3 separate regions of the Homo sapiens genome follow, and regions 1 and 3 are each linked to region 2. Evidence: promoter capture Hi-C in 16 types of primary human blood cells and fetal thymus (Javierre and others, 2016). All regions are on one chromosome and are shown on one strand. The core of a region is centred on a gene start or on the middle of the fragment in contact, and the rest is flanking DNA. Distances in the headings are between cores, read along the strand shown. Region 1 has its middle 140 kb from the start of LINC02498. Region 2 holds the start of HS3ST1 (heparan sulfate-glucosamine 3-sulfotransferase 1). Region 3 has its middle 160 kb from the start of LINC02498.

Region 1 (4,741 bases), core at 1,139-3,638, 550 kb after region 2:
AGGGGGACAATATCAGAGAGAGAGAGTTCAGCACTAGGAACTACACTTTTCTGGTTTTGCTCATTGTCAGAAAAGTGTGAGCTGAGACCTGAAAAAGACAAACAGTATACAAGAAAACTTGAAGAAAAGACCAGACCGGTATGGATGGAGGATCTGTAGATTCTGAGAACAAAGGACTGAGTAAAACCCCATTTGGTCTCAAAAAACCCACATGGTCATGGGAGACAATTTCAACATGAAGACATGAATGCCAGGAGGGAAGTGGCTGTGGGTACAGTGAAATGCTACAGGCTGTGCAATTAATTAGGCCTGAAGGTTAAATGTAAAAGTTACCTTATAAATTAAAATGATGAAAGTTTATACTTACACGATACAATACTCTAAAACTTGTACCTATATTTTCCTTCTTCCTTCATTAATTCTCCTTTTTTGTAATCCATGTATCTTCATAATTTCTGAAACGTGCATTCTAAAGAATGCCAGGCTTATCAGTGTGATCTCTGAAGTGAGGAGGTGACAAAAAAGAATGACTATTTTTCCACACTTGTTGTAAGAGGACATTTTTGGCCAGGCGTGGTGGTTCACGCCTGTAATCCCAGCACTTAGGGAGTCCAAGGCGAGTGGATCACTTGAGATCAGGAGTTCGAGACCAGCCTGGCCAACATGGTAAAACCCCATCTCTACTAAAAATACAAAAAAAAAAAAAAAAAAAATTAGCCAGGCATTGTGGTGCATGTCTGGAATCCTAGCTATTCGGGAGGCTGAACCCAGGAGGTGGGGGTTGCAGTGAGCCAAGATCGAACCACTGCACTCCATCCTGGGAAACAGAGAGAGACTCAATCTTAAAAAAAAAAAAAAAAGGACATTTTTGAAAATTATATATATATTCATATAAATTTTAATGGGAAGATCAATTTACACCTTCAGCTCCAACTTCAGCTTGTGAACTTCTTCCCACCAAAGGAGTCTGTTGCAATGAAAAGAGTCAAGTGATGTAATGGAGGTTTTCAAAACTGCTTTGACCTGAAGAAGCTAGTCAGCATGCTAGTTCACAGCACCATGAAGAAGAGATGAGAATGTGCTTACACATTTCTCCAAGGAAGAAGACAGTTTCTTGCTCTAGATTTGTGTGCCTGGGTAAAAATTCTATCATATTGTTTATTCTTTCCTCAGAGTGTGAGATCCAGAATCAGACTCACTAGTTACATGGCTTTAGGGAAGTTACTCTTTGTACATTAGTTATCTACTCTTTCCATCAGAAAAGATGATGATGATGATGATGATGATGATAAGGAGGAGGAAAAGGAGGAAGGAAAGAAGGGGAAATTGGGGAAAGAGATGAAGAAAAAGGAGGAGGAAAAGAGAAAGAAGAAAAGAACAATAGTAACAACTTCTTGATGGGGTTATATTGAAGATTAGATTAGTTAGTATATACGAAATGCTAAATACGGTGATTCCCAAGAGATGCTATTATTGTTTTTCATTCAAGCAACCAACATTTGTTGAGAACCTACTGTGTGCAAGCTGCTCCATCACTGTAGGAAATGCAGTGATGAGTGAGTGTACCACCATCTAGTGCAAAAACTGACCAATGCTCAGATACTAAGCTTTATACCCGTGGACTATAGCTTCCTCTACTCCTTCACATTCCTGCCACCCAGCAACTTCCTGGTCTTTCTTTCACAATAATTGATGCCTTTGCACCTGAATCACAGTGTGCCCTTCTCCTCATGTTGTATAATCTTCCTAGAAGCAAGCAACGTCTGCTCAAACCACTCGTTCAAAATCTTGACCCCAGGATTTCTTATTTCATCATGTTCTGACAACTACCTTCCCTATAAATCAGGAAACTCAACACTCTACTCTTCTCCCTCAACTGCCTATTCTCCCACCACTCCACATCTTTGCTCTATGTCTATCCCATAGGCAGAAGCTCACCCATATATGGGATTACTTGGGATCATGTGGACAGTCCTTATGTTCTAGTAGAGCAATTTTCCCACATTCAAGTGTGTATGAATCACCTAGGGATCTTAGTGAAACACAGATTCTGATTCAGTAGGTCTGGAGTGGAGCATGAAATTCTGCAATTCTAATGTGTGTTAAGTTCCCAAGTGATGCTGATGCTGCTGGCCCAAGGACACACTTTGAATAGTTAAGCTCTAGTAGTCCTGATATATTAACCAGTCAGGGCCATGTTTCAGAGTTGAGCCCTGGGTCCTGGAAATTCAGAAATATGACTTATGTTAGAATACTGAGTAAAAAAGTACCCTTTGTGTGGATGACTCACATTGACTAAATTTATATACACAATGCCTACAGGCAGAGAGGCAAGAAAATGGCCCATAACAAGAAGCAACACTCACTGGACTGAGGGGCTTAAAATCCACATGGCCAGCCACTGTCTCCCTTGCATTGACTTACAGGCAAAATCAAATAATAATAAGAATATAGATTGGAGAGCATGGAAACAGAACATGCTGGAAAAATTGAATATGCGTGTATCTCACAACTGCTTATGTGTCCTACCAAAAATCAAATTTGTTAGTGAGCCTCCACCCCTCTGAATCTTTGTTCTTGTTATTGTATGGCTGACAAATCCCTAACCCAAGAGATATATGCTTTCTTTACATAGGTTAGAACAGTAGAAATTCTTCATCTGCAACATCCACTTAAAGACAGGCATGCAACTGATCAATATTTATGGCATTTAGATGTGTATACTGCAAAATAATAGCAACAAGCACTAATGTTGAATAAATGCTTGCTAGAAGCTAAGCTCAGAGGTTAACACTTTGTACTCACAATATCACTCCGAGGTAGGTCTTACTATTATCCTATTCTATGGATGAGGAAAGAGAGGCCGGGAAAGACTTAGTAGCTACCAGAGTCAGGATTTGGAAATAGGCATCTGGCCTTTGATACCTAGCTATTAGCCAAGAGTTGAAAAAGAGGGCATGTGAACAGAACATATAATAGTGGAAGAAATTGATTTATTTAAAGGTATATCTTTACGTATGTTTTAATCACTTCCTTTAGAAAGGTTTTTCTCATGTCTGAGAAGCTGCACCTTCTCTAAAATCATAGTCAGAACGGAGGAGACTCATTGGTCAGCATTTCTGGGCCTGAAAACCACTTTGCTTCCTTCATATGCCATTTGGAAAGCTTTAGATTTGTGTTGCAAAGGCCTTTGTTGGTGGAAAATGTTGAGATGACTGAACAATGATTTGTAGAAATATAGATACATATAGGTAGATAACTATAGGTATCTCAATATGGGAAAAGTTGGTCAAAAATATTTACTATAATTTTACCGTTCATAGATCTAGGTGCAACAGAATATTTAAAATAAATTTAAAACAAAAAGATGTAGGTACAGTGTGCAGAAGACTCTTGGTTAGGTCACTTTGAATTAGTTTTCTACAATATCTGTATCCTACAATACCGGAATGCATTTGCTTATCGAAGTGAACATTTCCAGAGGGTGAAGCTGAAGTTCAGACCCACAGGACTCAGGGCCTCAAAGTGTATCCTTTGCATCAACAGAAGCCCACAAAAATTCTCACACTCTGAAGTTTAGGCATGAAAGACATACATAAGATTGTTTGTCAATATTTTAAAATCGCATTTAAGACTTGGTTTGTTAATCACAGGTTTTGTTTCCTGGCTCTGAGCAAATGATAGAAAGTGAAACAGCATACCTCTCAATTGGGTGCAGTAGGAGATGCTGGAAGGTTTAGATGTAAAATTACATAACTTTCTGCATCTGGGTGGGGCTCTGGTAAGATCTCTGCCCTCTATGTCCTCCCAAGGAATCTTAATTTTACGAGGAGGGAGATAAAGAGAAAAAAAAATCTGCAAAGGAACTAAAGAAGTGAGAAAGATTTTTTTAAAATCTCTTTTCTTGCCTAAAAGGTGACAGACTAAACCAGAACAAGACATTTGCATAATAAAACACCAGCAGAAATGAACTAGGCTAACTAAGCAAAAGGTGTTGTGGAGCTTGCAGTCAGCAGAGGTACTCACACATTTTAATAAGTTCCAGGTTTGAGCCTATGTCTGGGTATATTGGAATCAGCATGAATGTGGAATTCAGAAAAAAACCTATTCTGCAACATAACCTTTGGCAATGGTCTTGATCCCTAACCCCCTAGCCCCACACCCATATAGTGGACTTAGTACTAGGATGAATGGCCAAAATGAGGCATTCTCCCTCTGTTCCTCCCATCTGTCTTTGGTAAAATGGGGACATTAATGCCCATTTCTGAGTTCCAAAAATTAACTGTAATAATAAATGCAGAGAGTCTGCTACACAGTAGGTTCTGGAGGTGAGCGTCCCTGCCCCTCACCAGCATTAAAAATTAAAAAGTCATTTTCATATTGGAACATTTGGAGTGGACTCCTCAAGGATTATGAATTCTATTAATATTTGTCTCTCAAATAAAAGAACAATTGGGGATAAAATTGCACCCAGCCAAATCCATTTTAAATGGATGAGAGTGGAGCAGAAAATAATGAAGAAGAATGTAGACAGATACAAAACGGGACTTAGACCATTTTGCTGCTAATAGGTGCCACAGACAGTTCATTACTGATAAATGTAGAATAATGATGTTCTTAATGAGTCTTTTCACGCACAAATTCATCATAAAACAAGAGGATGAGGTAAAACAAAAAGTCTTTGAATAGCACTCATGCAGCAGGGAAAGCAAGGATAATTTATGTCCCCCAAAAAGCTACC
Region 2 (4,326 bases), core at 1,621-4,120:
AGCTGGTATTATTACTGATTATTGCCCAAACTCATAGGTCAGTTGCTTTTGTTTCTATTTCATGCCTTTTCACTCCTTGAGCCTTTATCTTCTTTAGAACAGTTTACAACTGTGTTAACTCATGTCTGTGCGTGTCTGTAAAGGTAGGCTAGGAGTGTTTGCCTTGTTTTTCCTTGAGATAAGATTTTATGCTCTCTTAGGGCAATGGAGATATCTTATTTTTTCATCTCTCTCTTAGTAACTGGCATAGTGTTGTACACATACTAGGTGCTCAATAAAGACTTCGAGATCTTAAAATATTAGCAGTACAGAGATCTTCCACTAAAACCCTCTCATTTTTCAGTTGTTGGAACTGATAAAAAGAGTCTTGGGCCACACAACTGACTGACAGACACTTTTGCAGTCAACTACTACTGTGTCTCCTAACAGCCTCTATTCTCATGCCCACGGCTTTGAAAGGGAAACATGTTTGACTTAAACCCTGACTCCTTGAGGGAAGTTCCATTTACAAAGTTTTTTTTTTTTTTTTTTAAGAGCATAGTATGTTTCAGATACCATGCAGGATTGTAGGATTCTGGGATTCAGATACCATGGAGGATTCATCATTAAATCACGATACCCAAGCTCAAGGCGTTTATAATCTATTAGAGAAGACAGATCCCTAAATAGATGTTTCAATAATGTGATTGTGTTGTCATAGGAGAGCTAAGCTCTGGCACTACATGAGCTTCTGGATAAGAAACCTAACTCATGACCAGAAGACTTCAGGGAGAGCTATTTAGGAGCAGTGGCAAATGCCTGGACATACACATAAAACTAAGTAAGAACAAAATAGCCAGTTGGTGTTTTTATTTATCTGAATGTAAGAACATAGATTATCGATCAATGAACAATTGCTCAGATTTAAAAAGAAATGAGGAAAACTAAAATGTTAGTCCTCAAATTCCTGTCACTTCCCACATGTGCCCTGCAGTCATTTCCTGCAAATGGAAACTTCCAACAAAATCTCTGGGCTGGAGACCTGGGGTTCCAGTTTCTTTCAAGGTCTTGTGGTAGGGAACTAAGTGGGTGAGTAACCTGCCTTTGGCTTCCAGGGTGCAAACAGAATCATTGCTAACCCCCTTTGTGTCTCACAATGGGTAATGAAATTCATACTATGGCACCAAAGCACTTTGAGCTCTTTAGAAAAAGTAATCATACCAACTTAGAGCATTAAAACCACCCCGTATTTTGAAGGACTCATGATCTGCACTGTGCTTGGCTGCTGGTGGAAGCTTAAAGACACCAGTAATTGGCAGAACTTTATCTTAGACTTCCATTTGACCCTCACAACCTCACACATGATTTTACACAGCTTCCTATAATGGGGGAGAAAAGCCCTTCTTTTAAATCTAATGTTAGTTTAAATGCTAAGGCTTTCAAAGTGGGCCTTTAAAGTCACTTTTTAGAATTTGTATTTTTTTTTAACCTAAAATAGACATGCCAACATTATTCTGACTAAAAGAAGTAGACAAGGTCATTCAACTCCTAAAAGCTTATTTTCCAAAAGCACAGTTAGGTCTCAGCTTTCAGGGTGCTTCTGGCTGTATCAAAAAGACAGAATATACTGGTCACTGTGTTGTTTTCTGAAAGTGCCGAGGGTAATCTGTGTATGAGTTAAAGGGCCAATTTCCTATAGGAACCTTCTCTTAGATGGGATTTTTTTTTAATTAAACAATGTTGGTGAAATATATTTAAACGTAAATCACAAATTCGAAGTCTTCCAAATATTTATTTACTAATGTGGAAGACATGGAAACTACAGTAATCTCATTTAAAGGAAGTTACTTTGATGTGCATTTGCTTTTGGCGGGGTATGATTGCTGACCTGCCTTTGAGGGCAACTTCCTTTGGCTCAGGTAAGCAGGCAAACCCGTTTCTCCAAGGCGATTCCAACCCCACGCCCCTCAAAACCTTAAATCTTAAATTGAGTTATTGGGTGCAGGTCCTTTCTCCCACAGAACCTCCCAGCTTCCGGAATAGAGGAGCGGGGCAGAAATATCCTGCTTTTTATTTCAGAGCTGACGTTTGCAATCCTAGTGCACTAGCGGAAAAAAAAAAAAAAAAAAAAAAAAAAAAAAGCTGAATTTTCCGCGCTCTCCTGGCAAATTGGCGTCCGCTCTCCGACGCTAAACCAAAGGAAAAGGAGTGTTCAATGGCGACAGGGCGCTCTTTGAAGCCGGCTCCTCACGCGGATTCTGGCCCAGGCCGCCGCTCCGGTCCCAGTCCGGCTGCAGAGCGAATTGGAGAGGATGGCACCTCCTGCTTCCCGGGGGGCGGAAGGAGCGCCAGCGCCTAAGGTGGGTCACCTGCCAGGAAGGGAATACGCATGGTGCAGACTCACGTGGGAGGAGCACAGGTCCCGGGTACAAGTGCCGAGCTGGCGACTTAGAGAAGAGGTAGACTCGGGCTCAGACCAAGCAGGCGTAAGGGAGTAGACGGGACGTCCCGTGTTTGCAGTGACGGCGGAGTCACCCATCCCAGCAGCCTCACCTTCTTGGAGCGCTGGTCCCTCCCCTTGGACTGAAACCCCAGGGGCCACCGCACCGGGTGGGCGGGACCGACTACTACCCGACCAGCCGCTGGAGCTGCGTGCCAGGCGGGGCTGTGCGGAGCAGCTGAGCGCAGAGCGGAGCACCAGGCACCTAGCGGGCCGGACTCTGGGCGGCACCCGAGCGGGCCGGGCAGCAGTGGGCGCTCGCGATCCTCCTCTGCCCAACGCGCTCTCCCTCCGGGCCCGGCCTCCTCCGTCCCCTCCTTTTGCTCCCGCTCCTCCTCCCGCTCCTCCCCCTCCTCGGGATTGAGCACCAAAACGCCCGCCTGCAAGGTCCTCTGCGCCCTGGCAGCCAGGAGTCGCCGCCACGACAGCCGGGTCTCAGTGGGTGCCTGCGCCTTCTCCCCGCCCGCCTGCCCCGGGCCATCCAGAAACTTGCTCTACCCGCCGCGGGTGCTCGGCAGTGCTGCCCATGGCCCAGCCTAGGAGCCTATTTAGGGCGCCGGACGGGCTGGACAGAGGCGCGGCTCAGGTGAGTGCGGCGCGCGCGGGGTGGGAGAGTGGCAGGACGCAGGTGTAGAGGGCTCCGAGGTGCCTTTGTCTGGCGTTCTGGACTTCGGGCAAGTGCAGAACCTAAGAAGAATCGAGGCTGGAGCAGGTGGAGTGGATGCAGAGGGAACCAGGAAGCAAAGGCTGGGGATTTTCCCATCCTCCTCACCTCCTGCCCTAGCACCTCTGCTCTGGAAGTCCCGAGGGACCGGTTGATCTGTAAGGACAGGGACCCAGATTTCTGACTCTTACTGGGTTGGATGTTTTCCCCCCCTGCAGAGTCGTGAGGTTCGCTCCTGCCGGCCGCTTCGCGACCGCAGCTTCACCATAGGACCCTGTAGGGCAGCGAGAGCGCAGCACTCAACGGATCCTGGGTACCACCTGGGGCCAGAAACTGGGGCGAGGACACAGCCCGCAAAAGTAACTCGGCTGAGGGAGCCTTTGGGGGTGGAGAAGCCTTGGTCGGGTTTGCCTTTGCATTTGGTTGGAGATAGGCATCTCCCAAAGAGAGAGATTGAGGTGACAGCCCTGACAATAAACCTCTCATCCCTAATGCCAATTACATGAGGGTCTTGATTTTTTTCTTGTTACTTTTTACTGATTTTTTTCCCCCTTCGTGGTTTTCTATTTCCGGGCCCTTGGGTAGTGGCAGCGGATGGAGGTGAGGGATGGCGGGGTGCGAACCCGCGGTTGGAACGCCTAGACCCCAGCTCCCAGGAAGGGTCTTATTCGCGGAGCTTGACCTCTCCAGGTGCGCTCTACCAGCCAGGGGGCGGACGGCGCGCTGCTCCTCCTTCTAGCCCCAGCCTGTCCCAGGAAGCGGAGGACAGACCCAGAACGTAGGCGGATGATGGGAAGAAGAAGCTGGAGCCAAAGCCGGGTGCCGGCGCGGGATGGGGTGTGCTGGGCTCTGCAGTTATAGGTCTATAACTCTGCAGTTATAGGCGCTATAGGTCTTCCATCTCTTTCCCTCCCCTGGGAGCCAGCGATTCCTCGCACACTCAGGGCGCTCTCTTGGGCCAAGGGTTGCATCCTCCCTCTTCCTCCTCCTTTGCAGATCCAGTGGTACCCTTGCCTCGCCTTGCGCGAGTCTCGCTCCTCCCTTTCCCACAATGTTATCATGAGCTATTTTTATCTACAACTTGTGCCAAGATGCTTTTGGGGGGATTCTAGGGAGGCCACTCCAAATCCACTGTCTTTGCGCTGCGCTCCGAGAAACAGTCTCCTGTTAGCATGGAGCAGCC
Region 3 (4,450 bases), core at 1,212-3,711, 530 kb after region 2:
GTAATGATTATATTTTTAGAAGATTGTTCAGGGAAAGTCTCACTCATGTTGTTACAACTGAGCAAAGACAAATTTGTTTCATGCTTCTCTAACTGCATGAAAGGGTCTTTTCCCATCCTCTCCTGACCAATTATCATTCATTTTCAGTGACATTCTCTCAAAGAGAACTTTTGGGACCTACTAGTAATTGAACAATTCGTTTTTCAGTCATAAGCTTGGTGTGATTAATTACAATTATCACAGTTTGAAACTGTATACTTACATATTTGTTAGCCTCCCTGTCTCCCCTACTAATTTATTATCCTCATGAGGCTCTTTTCAGCAATGTATCAGTAGCACCCAGAATAATGATTGGCTCATAGCAGTCTTTGAGTAGTTGTTTAATGAATGAATGGATAGAAGGATGGATAGATGGGTGGATGGCTGTGTGGGTAGACAGATGGATGGGTAGATGAATGAAAGTACTGATGGGCAGACAAATGGATGAGTGGATGGATAGATGGATAAATGGATGGAAGGATAAACAGATGGAGCGGAAATTAGGAGAAATGTAGAACAGGTACGGTTGACAGTCTCCAAAGACGGTGTCATCAATTTCTTCCCTCCCTATAGATGTATGTTGCAACTGACACCAAAGTGGAGTCTAACTATTTTCACCTCCATTCCAGATGGGCCTTTGTGACTTTCTCAATAGAGCATGGCAGAAGTGACATTTCAGAACTTCTGAGACTATGACAAGAAATCCTGCAGCATCTTCCTGCATCTCTTGGAGTATTCAGCCTGGGAGAAGCCTACTGCTATGTTAGAAGTCTGCTATCTTGAAACCTCCATGCTGTAAAGAAGCTTAAACTAGGCATGTGGAGAGGTCACGCGGAAGGAGATAAACTTGACCAGCCCCCAGGTATCTCAGCCCAAATGTCAATCTCCAGTCCTAGCTGTCATCTGTTTTCAACTGCCTGAGACAATTCAAGCAAGAAGAGTTCACCTAAGCCTAATTGTCCACAGGACAACAGGGGGCCGCACTAAATTGTTGTTTTAAACCACTAAGTTTTGGAGCATTTTGTTACATAACAGTGGGTAACTGGAATGTCTGGAAAAAAAGCATACTGAGAAGCTTACATTGTCATTTGAAACAGTAATAGAAATAGAAATGGTGGGTGTGAATAGACCTATAGATGAAAAAAAATGAAGATTTACAGAAGCCAATTGACAAGCCAAGAAATGGCACAATGAGAACTATAATCCAAGCCTAGAATTTAAAAAGAGACAAGAGATAGACAAAAAGAGGATGAGAGGAAAACAAAAGACTTTATATCTTCAACGTGTTTAATGTTTTATCCAATCTTTCTTAGCTGAAGTCAAGAATATATAATCCAAGTGGTCTTCCCAAAAATAAATGTTTGTTTTTTTTTAAATGCCCTGCCCACCCCACAGGATTGCACATGTGCTACTACCAAAAAATAAAAGTAAAGAAAAGAAAGTTTTCTATGCTTGGAATAGCAAGAGCCTCTGTCCTCTGTCTCTTCATAGTATCTGGGAAACATGTCCTCAAACTCTTGGGTCCTTCTAGCTGGTTTGGACTTGATCCAATCATTTAGTAACTACCACAATGCCCAATACAGCAAATAGTTCAAAGCTACTTCCTGTTAATTAGCCAAGGCAGTTTTGAGGGTCCCAGCTGTGCAATTCATTTTCATGCGCAGTATCCCCAATTAGGCCAACTCTGTCTGAAATTTCTGGAGCCACAACTTGATAATCAGTGGAGAGATGCACCAAGCTAAGATAAGGTCAAAGTATATTTTCTTTAGTGGTTCCCCCAAGACAACACTTCAAAATCACTTACCAGAGTAAAAACTATATTTCATATACTTTACGAAAATAAATGTGTAGTCCTAGAAGGGGAAGTAACCATGATTAAATTCCTGACCATTTCTCTTTATGCTATAACCTAAAGGAACAAAAATAAGATTCTTTTTCTGACTTCTTTGAGCCCTCTTCTCATATTTTGAAATAAACTGCCCATTGGTGACAGGCTTCCCCTCCCAGATAAATTGGTCCAAAGATCCATGTTAGATTGCTGACCTAAAAATTCATTTAGCTGTAACTGCCTGCCGTGTCAATGCGCTTTCATTAAAAAAGTGGTCTTTTCTGCATAAACAATATAGAAGACCCATTGATCACAGTGCCTGGCATGCCACCAACACCATATTTTCTTTTTCTTTTTTCTTTTTTTTTTTTTTTTTTAGACAGAGTCTCTCTCTGTCACCCAAGCTGAGAGTGCATTGGTGCCATCTTGACTCACTGCAACCTCCGCCACCAGGATTCAAGTGATTCTCCTGCCTCAGCCTCCCGAGTAGCTGAGACTACAGGCACACGCCATCACACCCGGCTAATTTTTGTATTTTTAGTAGAGACAGGGTTTCACTATGTTGGCCAGGCTGGTCTCGAACTCCTGATCTGGTGATCTGCCTGCCTCAGCCTCCCTGAGTGCTGGGATTATAGGCGTGAGCCACTGTGCCTGGCCTAACACCATCTTTGTAAAGAAATTCCTCTCCCATAGGACCTGAAGAAGTGGACAACGCCAAGAGACATGCTTGATTGACTAAGGCAGCAAATCCTGGAGCCAGCCAATGCCCTGTCATCTTCCATTCACAGGGAAAACCAGCCTGACCAATCAAATCGTTTCTCTCTCTGGAATTCAGAGTCATTGACCAAAAGCGGCGCTAACAGAGGAAGCTGCTGCTCAAAGCCATAGCACAGTGAGAGGTGAGAGAGTCATGCTGGGTCTCAAGTGAGCCAAAGTGAAGCATAGCCTATAAAATAGACGAATTAAACAGTGCAAAAAGCCAGCTGGTAGAAAAAGGAAGTTGAAGTAGATGTGAAATGTGAAATGGAGTCATCCTGAGCAGGTGAATGAAACCATGAAGGCAGGAAAAGACAAAGAGAGCTTAGCTAGTTCCTGGACAGCCTTAGCTCCTGAACACCACTTGGCCTTCTAGATCCAGGACCGGCTCTGGTCTTTGTGTGTATCTTTACCACTTCTTTTTCCCTTCAAGTGGCTGGAGTGAGCTACAGTCCTTTAAGAGCATGGTGGCAATGTGCTTTAGAGTGAAAACTGCCTGGACCCAGCCTTAAAGTTTAGATCAGGCTTCTGCCGGCCTGGCGCAGTGGCTCACGCCTGTAATCCCAGCACTTTGGGAGGCCGACGCGGGCGGATCACGAGGTCAGGAGATAGAGACCATCCTGGCTAACACGGTGAAACCCCGTCTCCACTAAAAAATACAAAAAATTAGCCGGGCATGCGCCACTGCACTCCGGCCTGGGCGACAGAGCGAGACTCCGTCTCAAAGAAAAAAAAAATACAAAAAATTAGCCGGGCGTGGTGGTGGGCGCCTGTAGTCCCAGCTACTCCGGAGGCTGAGGCAGGAGAATGGCGTGAACCCGGGAGGCGGAGCTTGCAATGAGCCGAGATCGCGCCACTGCACTCCAGCCTGGGCGAGAGAGCGAGACTCTGTCTCAAAAAAGAAAAGAGGGTAGGGTACGGTAGGGTACGGTAGGGTACGGTAGGGTAGGGTAGGGTAGGGTAGGGTAGGGTAGGGTAGGGTAGGGTAGGGTAGGGTAGGGTGCAGGGCTTCTGCTTCATCTGGAGATGGCCTCCTCAGTGCTGGGCATACAGAATCAGGTTTCACAGGGAAGACCTGGCGTAAATGCTCCCCCATGAGTGATGTAGGTGGAGACGTAGGAAGCTGGCCCACCACAGTGTTCTCATTTGGAACGTGTAAAAACCTTGTGAGCAAAATTAAGCTTGGACTATTGCCCAGGAAATGCTGAGCTATCCTTCTGGCCTCTCTGATGCCTGCTCCATGTTTCAGCCAGAAAACACAGGAAATCAACCGACTGGGAGTCTTCTGTGTGCTCTGTGGCACCTTTCCTCATGTCACCCCATGCACGTGCAGCCACCACCCCTGAGGTTCTTGTCTGGCTCTTGCTAATCAAAATTCTTTAGAACCTAATGCTTCTCCTCTTTATGCTCCTGCACAGGCCCAAGGATGGGGCCCTTTTCTTTGTCTTGTTTTGTTTTTTATCTACCAGTTCCTGGAAACAATTTGAATTATTTCTTATCTTTCTCTTTGGCCCCAATTAATAGCAGCCTTGCTTTTACTTCCATAGAAGCAATATATGTTTATTGCAGATAATCTGAAAAATACAGAAGAAATGACAGAAGAAACAGTTTCCAATGTAGAGACAACCAATATTAACATATTAATATACTTTTTCTGATTTATTTTCTATGAATATATTTATAGATATAAGATATATTTTTGAATTACATATAATCTGGCATTTTCTCTTAACATGATTTTATGAATATTTTAGATTATCATGAAATATCTTCAAAAATACTTTTAAAGTTGCTGCAGAATATCCTATTAGAGGGGAAGACCATCAT

Evidence for each region. Contacts are between HindIII fragments. The CHiCAGO score rates a contact against its expected background, and 5 or more counts as called.
Region 1: a contact is called between a fragment that was not itself captured here and the fragment with the promoter of HS3ST1 in region 2, in 2 of 17 cell types (total B cells and naive B cells). The highest score is 6.1, in total B cells.
Region 3: a contact is called between a fragment that was not itself captured here and the fragment with the promoter of HS3ST1 in region 2, in 2 of 17 cell types (naive B cells and total B cells). The highest score is 7.9, in naive B cells.

The regions. Positions count from the first base shown.
Region 1 is chr4:10,874,567-10,879,307 of GRCh38, reverse strand. No RefSeq gene overlaps it. Among named protein-coding and RNA genes, the nearest start is that of LINC02498, 140 kb to the right of the region's middle. The HindIII fragment of the contact is 1,558 bases long and covers 1,610-3,167 here.
Region 2 is chr4:11,427,438-11,431,763 of GRCh38, reverse strand. HS3ST1 (heparan sulfate-glucosamine 3-sulfotransferase 1) reads left to right here and starts at 2,870. Exons shown (of 2, transcript NM_005114.4): 1 at 2,870-3,065. RefSeq lists a silencer at 2,725-2,904 and an enhancer at 2,995-3,214. The HindIII fragment of the contact is 3,893 bases long and covers 1,537-4,326 here.
Region 3 is chr4:10,896,635-10,901,084 of GRCh38, reverse strand. No RefSeq gene overlaps it. Among named protein-coding and RNA genes, the nearest start is that of LINC02498, 160 kb to the right of the region's middle. The HindIII fragment of the contact is 2,690 bases long and covers 1,117-3,806 here.